Linked DNA regions of Homo sapiens: regions 2 and 3 are each linked to region 1. The links are contacts of gene promoters, found by promoter capture Hi-C in blood cells and fetal thymus (Javierre and others, 2016). All regions are on one chromosome and are shown on one strand. The core of a region is centred on a gene start or on the middle of the fragment in contact, and the rest is flanking DNA. Distances in the headings are between cores, read along the strand shown. Region 1 holds the start of UTY (ubiquitously transcribed tetratricopeptide repeat containing, Y-linked). Region 2 overlaps DDX3Y (DEAD-box helicase 3 Y-linked). Region 3 has its middle 180 kb from the start of NLGN4Y.

Region 1 (2,700 bases), core at 24-2,523:
CATACACGCATCAGTTTATAGGTCAAATATCTACTGCAAACTCTTCACCGCTGTAACTTACTTGCTACTTACACTTAGGACACCAGGGATATTTTTTTTAAAAAGGCAAAAAAATGTTTAAAATTAGACACCAAGAGCCAAATACCAAAAGGCGAGGGGAAGAAGCAGGAAGTTATGAATTTTGAAAACTGTACACATTCACTATTTGTGACGCTAAAATTCAGGAACAAAAGGCCCTAAAGTAACAGGCATGTGGTGTAGACCCGGTTTAGCCCGGTCCCAAAGCGTCCGATTTTTTTTTTCCTCAGAGTAGAAGGGAGTCTGGAGCAAGGGGCGAAGTATTCCAGAGTACGGGGACAGCAAAGGCAAGAAACACTTTTCCGACCCCTTGGCCATGGAGCAGAGCCAAAATAAATACTGGCTGGGCGGTAAGGAACGCGGGGCCTTGGTAGAGCAAAGTGCGGACCAAAGACTTTGCGTCTGGTTGCTTTTACCTTGCCTAGTAGGGTCTTCGTTCTGGCGCCATCTTCATGAAGCCTCACGAACCCGAAGAGACGGCTGTAGAGAGAGAGACACAGAGCTTGTTAATGGTCTGAGAAAGCCAGTGACTTGCTCCTTCCCGAGTCCAAGAGCGACAGCGACAGATTGGTGAGTGCCAAGCTGAGGATGACCCCGTCATCAACGTGGGCAAGCTGCGTCCAGGCCTTCCCGGAGAGTATCGCCAGCCAACCAGGCGGGTGATGGAGGTGCGTACCTGTCCATGCCACCAAGCGCCTCCCTTTCCTCGACTGTCAGGCTAACAGACTCCTCTTCACTCTCGCGGCTCGCTTTTCCTTCCGCCATTTTCTTTGCCTCATCACCGAAGGCAACAGCGGCGGTAGTGAGCGACACTGCGCAGGATTTCATGGAAACAACAAATTTCCAAGTCCCACGACGATACCCAACCTTAATCGAGTAGTTGAAAAGACGCCTTCAATCGCTGCTTGAGACTGTGACGCCAATTTTATCGCCTCCTCAGCGGCTGCAAGGAAAAAAGCTGAGGCAAAGACTTAAGCTACCGAAGCACGGGCAGCGGAACTCGGCTACCTGGATCACATCTGGGAAACTACAGGGAAGGCAGAAGCTCGCAGTGCTGGAGAGCACAGCAGAATTTCTTAAAATCACAAACTTTGCCAGCACCAGCACAAAGTTGTAATTGTGTCACGGGCGAACCCCACGCAGCCGCCGCGACCTCCCCGCTCCCAACCACTTAGTTGTAGCCAATCTAGGCGACTGATTCGTCTCACGTGATCTTTGTTGACTTACGTCAGGCATTGCTCCACTGTACTCCTAGGCTGCTGGGACCCCGCCCAGCCAGTTCGCCAAGGACCTAGGAACATGACAGAGGCTGACTGATTCTGACCGCTGGTTGGTTGATGGTCACGTCTATGGAGAAAAGGGTAGTCTCTGGGATGGAACAACCTGTAGGTTGTGCTAGTTAAATGCATTAAGATAGAAAATGGAGTGTCTGTGCTGGGTGTTTTTGCAGTTGCGATACGCTTGAAGGGGAAGAGAGCGATGGGAAGGGCGGCATCGGGCATCACCCACGGGGCGCAAATGCGAAAAGAGGACACCATGGACTTTAGGAGAGTCCGTAATGAGGCTCCCACTGTCACAAGCCTTGCGAATGCGAGACCTTGCGGGGCATGGCAGGGAAGCTGCGCAGGCCCTAAACCTTCACCCTCAAGACTTTTGGCCCTAAGGCCTTGTCACCTCCATAGGCTGGTTCTTTGCCCATTTCCTCTCCACTGACCAAGTCTAAAGAGAAGGCATAATATCTTATGACCTCAGTCGGTAAGCCAGGCCCTAGGGAATCAACGTGGCAACTGCATTTATCAGTTCATGATATTATCTAAACAACAAACGATGAGCAAAAAAAAAAAAAAAAAAAAAAGTTACTCCACAAACCCAAAATGTTTATTTCTATTGTGATAATGATAATTCCGTGAGGTCTCAGTAAGAGTAGGAGCTTCTGTGGACAGGAATTATAAGAACAATAATTAAGACCTTCATCACACTTTCAAGATGCAGTAACCCTTAGAAAAGAAAAAAACACCACTTTTTTCTTACTTTCTCAATTGTAACCAAAATTATAAATAATAGGTAAAAGAATTTATTTCTGAACCCCAAATATCTGAGAGAGGTCTTAGTCAATTTAAAAAGTTTATTTTGCAAGACTTACCCATGATACATTTGCCCAAGGTGGTCAGGGCACAGCTTGCTTTTGTACGTTTTAGGGAAACATGATTGGTTCGGTCAGGTAAGAGGGACAGCTCGAAGCGGGGGCTTCCATGTTAGAAATAGATAAGAGACAGGTCGGGCGCTGTGGTTTACGCCAGTAATCCCAGCACTTTGGGAGGCCGAGGCGGGCAGATGACCTAACGTTGGGAGTTTCAGACCAGCGTCACCAACATGGAAAAACCCCGTCTCTACTAAAAATACAAAATTAACAGAGCATGGTGGCGCATGCCTGTAATCTCAGCTACTCTGAAGACTGAGGCAGGCGAATCGCTTGAACCCAAGAGGCGGAGGTTGCGGTGAGCCGAGATGGCACCATTGCATTCCAGCCTGGGCAACAAGAGCAAAACTCCGTCTCAAAAAAAAAAAAAAAAAAAAAAATGTAGATAAGAGACAAGAGTTTGCATGCTTTTGAGTCCTTGA
Region 2 (2,700 bases), core at 124-2,623, 560 kb before region 1:
TGGGGTTGGGAGAACATCTTAAAGCATTAAAGCATAGTTTTTTGTATGGCCAACCTTACTAAATTAAGTTCTGACTTGCTCACTCTATCCTGGATAGGCACTTGGGAACTTACACTCTTTAAGCCATTCCAGTCATGATGAGGTGGAATGTATCAGTATACCAATTAATATTTTTGAAAGAGCTCTTTTAGGTTAATTTAAGTACAGCAATTTCTCATGTAATGTTTAGGGAGTTTATTCTAACCTAGGCAAACGGCATGCTATCACAAGAAAGGTTTAAAGCTTTGATAAAATGGGGGAGATTTAATCAGTTTTTTTAATGCCTGCTATAAAAATTTGAAATATTAGAATGGCCGACCATGGCAGTGACCAGGCCTCACTACAGGCCTGGTTGGATTCTGGTCTTTAATGCATGCTAGTGTTGATGTTTTTTGGTCAAGAACGGTTTAAACAGGAAGGATTGTGCAGCAGGCTTTAATTTAATGTAGATTCATACTGCTCTGTTAAAGCTGCATTGAAATGTTAAAATGGCTTACACTTGCAGACTTTGCAAATCTTAAGACTAACAAATCCTTGAAATCACACAGCTTGCAAATACGTACTAAACTGCACAAGGTGTGTGTTCTATATGTGCAGTTTTAGCGTATTTTAGTTGCATAGGTTTCCATGGTATTTATAGTCTCTTGTGCTAAATTTGGCCAAAGATGATTGTCCACCACTAAAAATGCCTCTCCCACTTGGAATTCTGTACTGATTTTGTGGCCAGATGCAATGATCTTTAAAAACAAATCTTTTCAATGGCATAAGAAGTTGACAAAAATTTCTTAAAGTGCAATAGATTTTCAAGTGTATTGTGCCTTGTTCTAAAACTTTTAAGTAGGTGCACTTGACAGTATTGAGGTCATTTGTTAAGGTGCTATTTCAATTAGTGTAGGTTTAGACTCTTGTACATTTCTCCCATAACTTTTTACAAAGTATTTTGTTGCACATTCAGAGAATTTTATATATATATGTCTTGTGTGGGTGTCCTCGACCTTCCAATCTTATTTCGTCTCTTGGAGATTGTTGAATGCAGCCAGTGAAGAAGTAGATTCCTAAATTTTATTGGGGACCATGGAATGGTAGTTGAGAAGAAAACTATTTGCACACAACAGATTTTAGATACTTTTTGCTGCTAGTTGTGTAATATTTATTGAACATTTTGACAAATATTTATTTTTGTAAGCCTAAAAATGATTCTTTGAAAGTTTAAAGAAACTTGACCAAAAGACAGTACAAAAAACACTGGCACTTGAATGTTGAATGTCACCGTATGTGAAATAATATATTTTGGGGTAGTGTGAGCTTTTAATGTTAAGTCTGTTAAACTTGAGTCAAATTAAGCAGACCCGGCATTGGCAATGTAGCTGTAATTTTCTGACAAAATTTAAGACAAAATTGTCAACTTGAAACTAAAACATGCCAAGGTTTTGATATACTTGTCTTAAGATATTAATGAAACACTTCTGAACACTGATAGGAAGTGTCCACATCCACAAAGTTTCTCTTGAGTTTTGTTATGTGTTTTGTTGTGTTTGATTTTCAGTGATTGTCTGGTATATTTACAGTCCTCAAACATGGTTATTTCTGTCAGTGACTTAACATTCGGTTTTATCAGCCAGCAGTATTCTTCAGTAAATAAAGAATGGAATTGCTGAATGTAATCATTGAACCTCGAGTCACTGTAAAAGTTCAGTAATTGCTTATTGTATTAGTTTTAGATGCTGGCACTGCATGTGCTCTGTTTATTCTGATTTTACTAAAATAAAAAGTTCAAAAGTCTTCCTGCTGTCACTTGTAGCTTAATGTTGAGTTGAAGATGAACTTGTGCTCTTAACCTGAAGATTGGAAATCTGATTTCTTGGCTACCTACCAAAGCTGTTTGTGAAATACCGTCCTGAGGCTAGAAGTACTTCTTTGCCTTAATGACGAAGGTGGTAGAAGGTTGGAGTTGTGAGGCAGGATTTGTGTTCTGACTGATGTGAATCTAAAAGGTCTATACATGCAGCATATATTGCATTTTGGTCTAAGCAACTTAATATGAGTGTGATTGCTATTTTAAGCATTTTTGATGTGAAAGATGGCTGAACTAAATGAATTGGGTAAAAAGTCAGTTGCCTAACAAATTACTTTTTGATTGTAAGTAGTTACTTAAGGTCAAGAATTAATTGGAGTAGGTTAATGATAGCTGAGAATCGCATAAGCACGTTTTGTCCAACTTCTTTTTTCTGGTGGCTGACAATCCCTTTAACACATTGCAGCAGTTAGTGCCGCTTAACAAACACGATAGGCAAACTGGTCTAACGTGTTAATGTTTGAAATAGTTTTTTTTAAGGAAATCAAGAACCTCAGTGTCCCTTTGTGTCCCCTTTTGGCAACCAACCTCAAACTGCAAAGGATAAGCACTGTTCTTTTAACAGCACACATAAGCTTTAGTCTAATAAACTTGGTGAAAATGAACAGTTTTTTTTAACTCATTTTTTGCACTAAGTGTTAACGTTCGTGAGATGGAATTACAATGTTCCTTAGATTTTTAACATTCTGATAGCTGTGTGGAATTCTGTTGTGTAAATAGCACCTAATTTCTAGTTTGTAGCAGCAACAAACTATTTTAATATGATTATGGTAAACGCCAATGCTCCTTCATGTCTTACCTGTTTT
Region 3 (2,700 bases), core at 141-2,640, 870 kb after region 1:
CAGCTCAATTAGAGAAGGGCACCAACCCAAAGAGTGTGTGCTGGCAAGATTTATTAAAGCCAAAGTGAAAGTAAAACTTCCACGCGGTGGAAGGGGACCCAGAAGGGTTGTCATTTCTGGCTTGGGTGTCTTATGCTTATATCCCCTTATGACTTCCCCACCTTTTCCTTTTTCTGTCCTATAGGATTAGCTTATTTTCTATCTGTGGGTTGGCAGGCCTGATTGATTAAAAACATCAGGCTGCAGCTAGAGCTTAAATTACTAATATGATTGGTTGATGTTTCAATCCCTTAGTTTGCAGCTGTGACTCATTTCGGCTTAGGAGAAAGTCCCCTTTGATTAGTTGAAGTTTCAATCCCTTAGCTTGCAGCTATGAGTCATTTTGGCTTAGGGAAAAGCCCCTTGGGGAAGTCCCTATAGACCCAGGAAGTCCAGCCAACTTAGCCACTTAGTCCGTCAGTAGTATTTGCATTTAACCTACATACATCCTCTTATATACAGTTAGCCCCATGTTCTACATCTGTGGATTCAACCAATATTGGATCCAGATATTTGGAGAAATCAAGAGCATCTATAATGAACAATAAACACCTTTTTTGTAACTATGTACATAACTATGTACTTAACTACTACACAGTGTTTACATTGTATTAGGTATTATGAGTACAATTATGTACCACCTAACAATGTTTTGGTCAATAACAGATCACATATATGCTGGTGGTCTCATAAGATTACAATGCCATATTTTTACTGTACCTTTTCTATGTCTAGCTATGTTCAGATACACAACATTTACCATCGTGTTGCAATTGATTACAGTAGTAAGTGCAGTAGCATGCTGTTCATGTTTGCAGCCCAGGAGTGGGAGGCTATGATGTATAGCCTAGGTGTATATAACAGGCTATATCATCTAGGTTTGTGTAAGTACACTCACTAATATTCACACAACAAAAAAAATCATTTAATAGCACATTCTCATAAGGACTAAGCTCTAATATTTTCTTTCCCAAATTCTCATCAAAGGGGTCTGGGTAGTCATGCCCTACAAACTTGTAACTTCTCATCAAATGCATTTTATTTAACCCTACATATCATGATGTACTTTCCAATATGACTCTGGCAAAACATTATGTGACAAAGAAGAAAGTGAAAATATTTTACCCCAAAACATGTTTCTTTGTCAATTCTTGAAATTACCCTGCAAATCTGTCCTAAGTGGGGGAAAATTTGCATCTGTAAAGAATCTCTATTAACATAGCTAGGTCTTTATCTTCCAGATGTTCCCTATCTTAAAAAGATTAACTTAAAGTCTAGCATGCTTTAGAAATCTGAACAGAAAATATTTGTCATCTATTTTTTCTAAGAGCTGCCACAATAAGATTTCAAGAGAACCTTGGTCTCCACAATCATTTATTTTAACCTGAATATCCCAGGTCTTTAGACAAACTCAACGAATTCTCAACCAGAAAATACTTAAATTTACCTATAGCCTGGAAGCCCCATCCCCTCCCACCCCACCCTGACCTTGCTTGAGTTGTACTGACTATCTGGACTAAACCAATATATTTCTTAAATATATTTGATTGTGGTTTCATGCCTCCCTAAAATGTGTAAAACCAAGTCATACCCCCATCACCTTAGGCACATGTTCTCAGGACCTACTTAGGGCTTTATCATGGGTCATGGTGACTTATATTTGGCTCAGAATAAATCTCTTCAAACATTTTACTGAGTTTGTCTCTTTTTATCAACACTCAGAACATAGCCCTGTTGTTAAACAATACATTATTGTAATCTAGAGAGGATTTAATATATATGGGAGGGTGTGCAGAGGTTATATACAGATACGACACAATTTCATATCAAGACGTTGAACATGCATGGATTTTGGAATACTCTGGAGGTCCTAGGACCAATCTCCTACTGGTACCAAGAGACGACTGTACTTTAAATCATCTCTAGTTTTTTGTTTCTGTTTTTATTTTTATTTTTAATAATCCCTCATACAGTGTAAATGCTAAGCATAGTTGTTATACTGTATTGGGTTTTGGTTAAGTTTTTATTGTTGTATTTTTATTTTTAATTTTTAAAAAGTATTTCTGATCTGAGGATGGTTGAAATTGCTGATGTGGAACTGGAAATATAAAAGGCTGACTGGATGTGAAAGTCATCCCAGTAGGATAAAGAATATATGCCATGGCGTGAAGGCAGACAATCAACCCAGGTTTGTGTTAAATTGATAAACTTAAGTTATAATTTATTGATACAATACACATGTATTGTTAACATAGGTGGGACTGAGTTGAATTGAGTTTCATAGCATTTATCAAATGCTGTGTCCCGAAGGGGAAAGGTAGGTTCATGTGTTCTCACTCTTTGAGGCATGCTTGTATTAGTACTTCCTGACACATCACGGAGGAAGTCAACAAAAGCAGAGAATTATCTCAAAAATTGTTCAAAGACCCCTAATAGTACAAAAAATTTTGTTGAATAATCAAGACCCATAGGGGCCCTGTGTTCATGGAACTTCCATTGTCACCAAAGAGATAAAGTGATATAATAGACATTGGTTGTCAAATTAAATGACAACATGACGTGCTTAACTTGGGAGCCAAGGAGCCCCACGGTGAAATCCTAGCACAATCACTTATCAGTTTTAGATGTTTGGAGAAGGCGCTTAAATTCTATTAGCATCAG

The links. Contacts are between HindIII fragments. The CHiCAGO score rates a contact against its expected background, and 5 or more counts as called.
Region 2: a fragment that was not itself captured here is called in contact with the fragment with the promoter of UTY in region 1 in 5 of 17 cell types (monocytes, naive B cells, total B cells and 2 more); the score reaches 11.6 in monocytes.
Region 3: a contact is called between a fragment that was not itself captured here and the fragment with the promoter of UTY in region 1, in 2 of 17 cell types (M1 macrophages and activated CD4 T cells). The highest score is 9.5, in M1 macrophages.

What each region holds. Positions count from the first base shown.
Region 1 is chrY:13,478,760-13,481,459 of GRCh38, forward strand. UTY (ubiquitously transcribed tetratricopeptide repeat containing, Y-linked) reads right to left here and starts at 1,274. Exons shown (of 30, transcript NM_001258249.2): 1 at 755-1,274; 2 at 495-558. The coding sequence starts at 906. It overlaps MIR12120 (microRNA 12120), which reads left to right and starts at 418; the gene lies at 418-507. The HindIII fragment of the contact is 7,265 bases long and covers 1-2,700 here.
Region 2 is chrY:12,918,658-12,921,357 of GRCh38, forward strand. DDX3Y (DEAD-box helicase 3 Y-linked) reads left to right here. Exons shown (of 17, transcript NM_004660.5): 17 at 1-1,821. Among named protein-coding and RNA genes, the nearest start is that of DDX3Y, 15 kb to the left of the region's middle. The HindIII fragment of the contact is 2,187 bases long and covers 281-2,467 here.
Region 3 is chrY:14,344,802-14,347,501 of GRCh38, forward strand. No RefSeq gene overlaps it. Among named protein-coding and RNA genes, the nearest start is that of NLGN4Y, 180 kb to the right of the region's middle. The HindIII fragment of the contact is 6,886 bases long and covers 1-2,700 here.